Linked DNA regions of Homo sapiens: region 1 is linked to region 2. The links are contacts of gene promoters, found by promoter capture Hi-C in human tissues and cell types (Jung and others, 2019). All regions are on one chromosome and are shown on one strand. The core of a region is centred on a gene start or on the middle of the fragment in contact, and the rest is flanking DNA. Distances in the headings are between cores, read along the strand shown.

Evidence for each region. Contacts are between HindIII fragments. The study calls those that stand out against the background at their distance.
Region 1: a contact is called between a fragment that was not itself captured here and the fragment with the promoter of IL17D in region 2, in 1 of the 25 tissues and cell types used here (mesendoderm cells).

The regions. Positions count from the first base shown.
Region 1 is chr13:20,413,892-20,418,455 of GRCh38, forward strand. The region is part of intron 5 of CRYL1 (crystallin lambda 1); the gene reads right to left. Among named protein-coding and RNA genes, the nearest start is that of MIR4499, 18 kb to the right of the region's middle. RefSeq lists enhancers at 1,387-1,968, 1,969-2,550. The HindIII fragment of the contact is 4,144 bases long and covers 592-4,564 here.
Region 2 is chr13:20,702,344-20,706,258 of GRCh38, forward strand. IL17D (interleukin 17D) reads left to right here and starts at 1,356. Exons shown (of 2, transcript NM_001385224.1): 1 at 1,356-1,948. The coding sequence starts at 1,659. RefSeq lists silencers at 738-817, 1,238-1,377, 1,668-2,177. The HindIII fragment of the contact is 9,244 bases long and covers 1-3,795 here.

The DNA.
Region 1 (4,564 bases), core at 1,414-3,913, 290 kb before region 2:
TGGCTTGGCGTGGTGGCTCACACCTGTAATCCCAGCACTTTCGGAGGCTGAGGTGGGGGATCACCTGAGGTCAGGAGTTCGAGACCAGCCTGGCCAACATGGTGAAACCCTGTCTCTACTAAAAATACAAAAAATTCGCCGGGCATGGTGGTGCATGCCTCTAGTCCCAGCTACTCAGGAGGCTGAGGCACGAGAATCACTTGAACCCAGGAGGCAGAAGTTGCAGTGAGCTGAGATCATGCCACTGCACTCCAGCCTGGGCATCAGAGCAAGACTCTGTTTCAAAATAAATAAATAAATAAAAATTAAAAAAATACACACACACACACACACACACATATGTATACACTAAAAAGAGATTTTTTGTGTGTGTGTGTGTGTGTGTGAAATGGTCAAACACAAATTCACCTTTTCCATCCCTGCAATCTACTAGGGGTTGAAATCAATTCCTCTTGACCTCCCTGCCTCCTTAGCTCACCCTACAACCTACGGACCGCCTGCAGCTGCAGGGAGTGAGAGAAGCTGACGACAAGGGGAGCGTGAGGACGGGGCATCGTAGTAAAAGGACATGAAGGATTTTCTAGATTTCTGCCTAGGACCCAGGGGGGAGTAAGATTAGAGCCATCAAAAGACGTGGGAAGGTGCTCTCCAGGCTTCACATGCCTGCAAGTCCGGCCTTGTTCAGCTTTTAATGAGTTCGTAAAAAGTGATATTCTTTGATGAAATGCAGCTTAGAACCATGGGTTTGTTTGCTAAGGTGGGGCCCTGGAATCTTCTGCAATGTAAATTGCAAAGCAAGAGGCAAGTTGTTATGTATTAAGGTTAGACGTCTGATCAGCCACCTGTGTTCCTTGGCCTCACGTGGCTTTGGGATGGAGGCAGGCAAGCGCAGATAATGATCTGCAAGAGCTGCGCTCCACTGAGGTCCCTCCCGTCAGAGGATGCCTCCCCCTTGGGCATTTCCACTGTCAGGAGGGCGGACGGAGGGAAGCCGCCACCTTTTCCCCTACGCCTTCACGGCTCAGACAGGCAGCACTCCCGCGGAATCCGCCGCCCCAGGTCTCATCTGAGCGCTGTCTTTCACCAGAGCTCTGTAGGACTGAGGCAGTAGCGCTGGCCCGCCTGCGAGAGCCCGACCGTGGACGATGCGTCGCGCCCTTCCCATCGCGGCCTGGGCGGGCCCGCCTGCCCTCGGCTGAGCCCGGTTTCCCTACCCCGGGGCACCTCCCCTCGCCCGCACCCGGCCCCAGTCCCTCCCAGGCTTGCGGGTAGAGCCTGTCTTTGCCCAGAAGGCCGTCTCCAAGCTGGGGGCTTGCTCCGCCCGGAGGGCTCTGCGGGGACCCTGGCACAGCGGCCTGCAGGGAGGCACCCTCTGCCCTGCTGCGAGCCTGGGGCGCCTGGGCCTGGCCTCGAGGTTCCTGGGCCTCCAGGGCAGCCCCAGGGGTCCCCCGAGAAGCGAGAAAAGGGGTTCGAAACCCCCGCCGTGCCCCGCAACCGGCTGCGGCGGGCGACAGCCAGGTGCCTCAGGTCCGTGTGCTGGCTTGGACACCGCCCTGCGTCTGCAGAGAGCGCGGCGGTGAAGCGGGAGCAGGCGGCCTGGCCCAGGAGCCAGGACGGCCACAGCCACGCCACCACCGGCGAGGGCGAGGGCCAGGGCCACTCACTGTGACCCGCGACTCCCTTTTAGAGAGCCACTTTGCGTTTCGTTTTGTTTGCGCACACGGGACACAAGCATATCGAGGCTGAACAAGCCACAGTCCACGTTTCCAGGAGAATTACAAAGCAAACGCTTGGCCTCGCCTGCCGCAGACTCCGCCCGCTTCTAGAGGCCCGCACCCTGACTCCTGCAATTGCGGCTTTCCCGCTTTTCAGACTGGCCGCCCGTGTTCACATTCCTCAGCTGCAGCGTTTGCTGCTGGCCCATTTCTAATCTTCCTGTAAGTGGAATCACTGAGCGCGCGTTCTTTCGTGACTTGTCTCTCACCATCCTGTTTCTCAGATTCACCTGCGTCATGTGTCCATCTCCTTGATGCAGAGATATGAGTTTAGTCATCCACCCTGCGGCCATGAGCCTTTGGCTAGTCTGGGGCTCCTGTGAGCAGGGCAGCCAGGGTCACGCGCACAGGGCCCGGGCCGCGGCTGGGGCCCAGAGCATCCTTCTCCCCGTCACTGCGGCGCCCCGGCCTCCAGAATTGTGTAGAAGAGGTCCCGTCGCGCCTCAGCCTCGCCACGCTTGGTGTCCTCACCCTTGCAAAGTTTCGCTAATCTGGTAGGGTGAAATGGTATCTCACCAGGTTTCCTTCGAGTTCTAAATCACCCTACCACATGTTCACTGACTGCTAAGGAGAGTGAATCAGTCTGTGCAAGTCACTGCAATGCTGAGGAGGGTCGCCTCCTTTCACTCCCAATAGCGAAGCTGTAACGGGTCGGGGCATCACGGGGGCTGGGGGATATCTACCTAAGGCCCACAGAAACTCCCGGAACCGTCAAGAATCCCGTGTGGAACACAGGCATTGTCGCCTCCTCTCCCTGGCAGGAGGTCTGGAGGCAGGAAGGGTGGCTCCCTGCCCTCTCTCCAGGCTGCTGGAAGGCCTGGGCTGTGGCCCCTCGCACCCCCGTGGGCTCTGGAATGCTGTGAAAGGCAGCCAGGCGGCCTGCAGTCGCTCCCTCACCCTTGCTTTCCAGGCCAACATTCCAAACAGCCCCAAGTTTTCATTTTAGTATTCAAACTGGGAAGTATGCAAACATGGAAGCCACCCTATACTTGCAGTGTTATTTGGCTTGGCTCTTTTAGAATCGTATTTAGTATTTTTAGAGCTGATTTTTAAAAAATCATTTTTAGGATTGCAAAATAGAAAAAAGGTGAGCCACTCAAGAGTAGGTCCTTTTTGGTTTGTATCATCTGAGCTAACAGCCCCTAACTAACGCCTGAGAAGGGTTCTCCATGCTGCCCCATGACCTGGGAGGAACCACATTCCCTCCAACTCCCATGTTCTCAGTTCTGCCTGATTTCATCTAGAGGAGGGCTGTGGGTCTTCCATCAGTCACTATTCACCAGTAGAACAAGTTAGAAAGGGAAAAACGTTTTGATACTTTCCCTTCCTCACTGCTTCTTTCTGCCCATTTGAATTTCTGAAATGGATTTCTCAAAGCTTGAGTTTTTACCAAGAAGCTAAATATAGAGAAAGAAAAGGACCACAAGGCATTCAGTTGAGAAGCTCCACAACTAGGATATCATGTCCCCAAGGCAAACGTTTGAGTTTCTCCCTGCTGCACTTGGTGCTGAACTAAAGCTTTTCCATTTAGGATGTTTTGAAGCTCAGGTTGCTTAATTTTGCCACTGAGCTTAATTCCACCCAAAGCCTTGTGACATCTGTGGCCTAATATTATCATAACAATGACAAATAATCATTTGTCATTGATAAATAATCGCAGCAGCATGACAGGCAGAAACAAGTGCTTGTGTTGAAACAGGGAACTGACAAGCGATTCCTTATAATAGGTGACGGGCAACACAGCTGTGCGGAGATGGGAACCCTACCTGAGTCCAGCCCTTCTGTGGTTCTGTTAACATTGATCAGTTTAGCAATCAGTACTTACTCCATTTTAAGGTAAAATTCTCAAGTCACACATACAAAGAAAAGATTATTTAAAAATCATACAAAGCAATGAATACTACAATCACTGTTAGTTCAAAACATGGTTTCGCGTCCTGAAAATCATTGGGCAAAGAGATCCCAGACAGTGTTAAGGAACCCCTTTTATTGAAAAACTCCTTGCTTCTGCTTCCTTAGTTAAAACCTGAGATTTTTCCACAGTGGAGTAACACATGCATAGCTGGGGCACATATTTTGCACCTGATTTGGTAGGAGAAAATGCCCAGGCTGAGAGGAGCCACAAGACATCCGTGAAGTAGGAGAAAATGCAAGATAGTTAATAACGTACCCAACTGCTATGAAACAAATGTTAAGTCGAATGAAAGGTTTAGGGATGTATCACTCAGGGTTCTACCAGACAAAGCCAGTAAGATTCACACACATACACACATACATCAAGAGATTTATTTCAAGGAATTGGCTCATGTGACTGTGGGCCTGGCAAGTCAGAAAGCCATGGACAGGCCATCAGGAGGGCAGGCCGGCAACTCCAGGCAGGAACTACCCCACAGTCTGCAGGTGGAATTTCTCCTTCCTCAGGGAGATCTCAGTTCTGCTTGCAAGGCCTTTCAATGGACTGGATTTAGCCCACCCAGACTATGGAGAATAATCTCATTTACTTAAAGTCAACTATGTACCAAATACCTTCCCAGCAACATCTAGACTGAGTTTGACTGAGTGACTGGACGCTCTAGCCTGGCCGAGCTGACCCTCTCAGGGGACAGATACCCTCAGGGATCTTGGATCAAGCACTTCTGTTTGTTTGTGGGGTGGGGATGGGGAGAAGAGGAAGCAAGACACATCTAACAATTAACAATAGCAAAGGGTTAACAGATGCTGTGGTACTTACTCTGGTCCTTCGGACAGTCCCAGAAGAAGAGGAAGGCAGGAGAGAAACTTGTGTGGTG
Region 2 (3,915 bases), core at 106-2,605:
TACAAAGCATAACTGAAATGTAGTTTAACTAATGGTTTACAATTCAGTCAAATACCAAAGCTGCAAACCATTTAGGGAGTCATCAATTACATATTTTGTACACTTTCAAAAAGCTTACAGCTGGGATGGGTTGTTTATTTTCAAAGCATGACTGCTTTAAAATGATCATATTCTTTAGCCTGCCACCTAGGAAGCATTAAGCATTTACTTGCAGAATGAACAAACGAGCACGTTGTCTTGTGTTATGAAGTATATAATATAGTTCGTTTTAGTTTCTTCATTCGCAGACTATCAGGCTCATTTCACGTGACTGCTTGCACTTAGAACTGAGTTATCACGGAGTAGGAACTCTCCAACATCGTCGTCATAGACCAAGAGATGCCCATGAACAGCCATGAAAGTGCCAGTCAGGGAAGTATTCAGTGCTTTGTTGTAGAGTTGTTGGATAGAGGCACAGGATCATTTCATGTTGTTGAGGAGAAAGGAGCAACAGCCTCCTCCCACCTTATTAAAAATAGAGATTTAAAAAAACCTCTAATTTCCTCGAAGTACAGAATCTCAAGAGGTAGCTCTAAGGAGAATCCCTCTGGGTTTGAGCGCATTCCTCTTCCAGGGGGCCTATTCTTGGACTGCTTTCCTTAATAGAGAAATCTCTCTGAGCCAAAATCGGCCTCCCCCAATTCCATCCTGTCGGCCCCACTTTTCTGCTTCGGAGACTTCCAAGCCAGTCCCCACTCCTCCTTCAGCCAGTCGGGCCCGCACCCGCGCCCGGCAGGGCCAGCCCTCTCCTCCTCCTGCGTGGCGCAGCACAGGCCCTGAGCGCGCGACCCCAGGCCCTGGGCGCCCCGCCGCATGCTCGCGGCTGGAAGCCCCAGTTTGCGTGGCCCTTCGGGTTATTCCGCTCAAGAGCCGCCGCGTCGCCCCATCTCGGCGCGAATCTGAAAGCGCTTTCGGGGGAGAAGATGTTGGGGGCACTGGTGAGTACACTGCACAAGTGACAAAATGTTTTCAGCTCCTGGAGGCGAAAGGTGCAGAGTCGCTCTGTGTCCGTGAGGCCGGGCGGCGACCTCGCTCAGTCGGCTTCTCGGTCCGAGTCCCCGGGTACGAGGAAAGACCACAGGGGGCTTCTCGCGGAAAAGCGGGCCGCGGACCCTGCGCGGGCTGGCTGGGGCGGGCGGATGACGAGGCGCAGGGGCAAGGGTGGGTCTGCGAGGCGGCGGGTCCGGGCGTCTTAGGCTCCGGGGCTCCCTCGCTGGCGGCGGAGCAGGGATGGCGCGCCCGGGGGTGAGGGTGCGGCGGGTCACAAGCACTCGCAGCCCGCGGCGCAGCAACCCGGCAGGCACACGCACACGTGCACGCGCGCCCCGCACCCGCCCCCCGTGCGGCCCCCGGCTCGGGGCGGCGGCGGCGGCGGGGGCCGGGGGCGCGCGGGCCGGCGCCGGGCTGGGCCCCGGGGACCCCGCGGGCGGCGGGCAGGCGGGGAGGGCGCTCTGGGGCCCGCCCGCGCGGCTCCCATCCTCCGGGCCGGCCTCTGGCTCCGCGGGGCGAGGGGAGGCGCCCGCCGGCTCCGGGCGCCGCGGGCGGGACACGGGCGCGGGGCGCAGGCGGGCTCCTCCGGCGCGTGCGGACGCTGAGCGTGGCCTGTCCCTCAGGTCTGGATGCTGGTAGCCGGCTTCCTGCTGGCGCTGCCGCCGAGCTGGGCCGCGGGCGCCCCGAGGGCGGGCAGGCGCCCCGCGCGGCCGCGGGGCTGCGCGGACCGGCCGGAGGAGCTACTGGAGCAGCTGTACGGGCGCCTGGCGGCCGGCGTGCTCAGTGCCTTCCACCACACGCTGCAGCTGGGGCCGCGTGAGCAGGCGCGCAACGCGAGCTGCCCGGCAGGGGGCAGGCCCGCCGACCGCCGCTTCCGGCCGCCCACCAACCTGCGCAGCGTGTCGCCCTGGGCCTACAGGTGAGCCGCGGGCGCGTCCTGGCGGGGCCCGGCAGGTGGGGAGGGCAGGGCTGGGCGGGGAGAGTGGGTGGGGCCGGGCCGAGGCCGGGCAGGCGGGGAGGGTGGGGCGGGGAAGGGGAGGTGGTTGGGGCGGGGCGACGCGGAGGGGGCGTGGCACGCGGGGCGAGGCGGAGCAGGTAGGGGTGGGGTGGTGCGGGGCGAGACAGGGTAGGGTACGGTAGGGTGGGGTGGGGTGCGAGGGGCGCTGCGATGAGGCGGGGTGGGGCGGGGCAGTTGGAGCACTGGGGGGCAATTCCTAAACTGCGAAGGCCCACCCCCACCACCTCCCTTGAAGGAGTCCTGCTTCCTCTCTTTACCCTCCAGTATTTCCTATGCAACACGTATCTCTTGAACACCTCATCTCCTCCAGGTTGGATGGGTCCGCAAGGCACTAGCTGGGGACCCTTCCGTGATGTGGACACAGTGATGTGGACCGTACTCTGCACAGGGGGCCCGGGGAGGTGCTGCTGGGGGGTGCGCGGTACTATCCACATATTTCCTGAGTGCCCCTGTGGTCCAGAGGCTGCTGGAGTGGAGCCCTGGGAAGCGCCCTCTGAGCCCCTCTAGTTTAATAGCCTAAGGAAGGAGTGGGGATAATTGGGAAAGAAACCACACCATCAGGCAGTGCATGAAGTGACATGAACAGTTTCGAGAGTATTTTGGTCTTGGAACAGAGGTCATTTCAGAAGAAAGGGACAGCCTGCAGAAGGGGAAGGCTGGAGAAGTTGGGGGCGTGTAGGCAGGGTGCCGCAGTGTCCTCAGCAGGCACCTGTGACCGTCTTCCCTCTAGCTGGAGCAGGAGGAGCTGCCCTAGGGGGCAAGGCCTCCCAGGGCCACAGAGGTCAAGAAAGGCTTCGTGAAAGAGCTGAGTCTTGATGGAGGAGAGCAAGTCGCCTACAAAGGCAGTGCTGAGGGAAGGGACAGCTGATAGCAAGCGGGAACAAAGCGCTTGGAAAATGGGGAGAGCCACAAGGCGAGCGGGGGCGGTGGGGGTGGGGGGGCGTAGGCGAGGTGTTTGCCTGTGGGGTGGGCATCGATGTAAGGCTGGAGACAGGTGCAGGAGCTGGATCCCCGCCTTGTCAGCAGTGCAGAGCTTCACCCTCACGCCTGGAATCCCAGCACTTTGGGAGGCCGAGGCAGGAGGATTTAAGTCCAGGAGTTCGAGACCAGCCTGGGAAACATAGCGAGATCCCATTTCTGCAAACAATTTTTAAGGATTAGCGAAGTGTGGTGGCACGTGCCTGTGGTCCCAGCTACTCCAGAGGCTTAAGTGGGAGGATAGATTGAGCCCGGGAGGTTCAGGCTGCAGTGAGCTGTGGTGGCGCCACTGCCTTCCAACCTGCGTGACAAAGCGAGACCCCGTCTCTAAAATAAAAATTAAAGAGAAAAAAAGTCTTGACACTTGAGATGGAGGAAGCCATACAGCCACTCTGGTTTAGGAGGGTGTCCCAATGGGGCATGGATTGGACAATGCTCTCCAGCACTTCCATCCAAAGGATCTAGGGCTTCACTCAGGCAGCGCGGTGGGAAGGGGAGACTAGGATCAGCGTGAAAGATGCTCATTAAAGAAGACAAGTGCTGTGGAGAGTCAGAGGAAATGTGATGATTTTGTCTAAAACGCATCTGGGCTTTCCTGGAGCCTCTCCCTGCCGGCTGCTGGGTAGGGAGATTTCCTTTTACTCAACAACACACAGGACCCCTATGCTGTCCTGGGAAGCCAAGTTTTAGGGCCTCCTGCCTCCTGGCTACTCTGCAGAGGACCAAGCTCACTGTGGCAGAGCCCCCTCAGAGCCCCTGCCCACGGGGAAGTTGGGTGGGACCCCTCCCGCCCTTCTCACTCCTGTCCTTCAGCTGGAGCCTGCAGGGCACACACATGGCGCCATTCATTCTGGTATCTTGGTGCTCTTGCTTTTCCTCTCTCTTCCTCC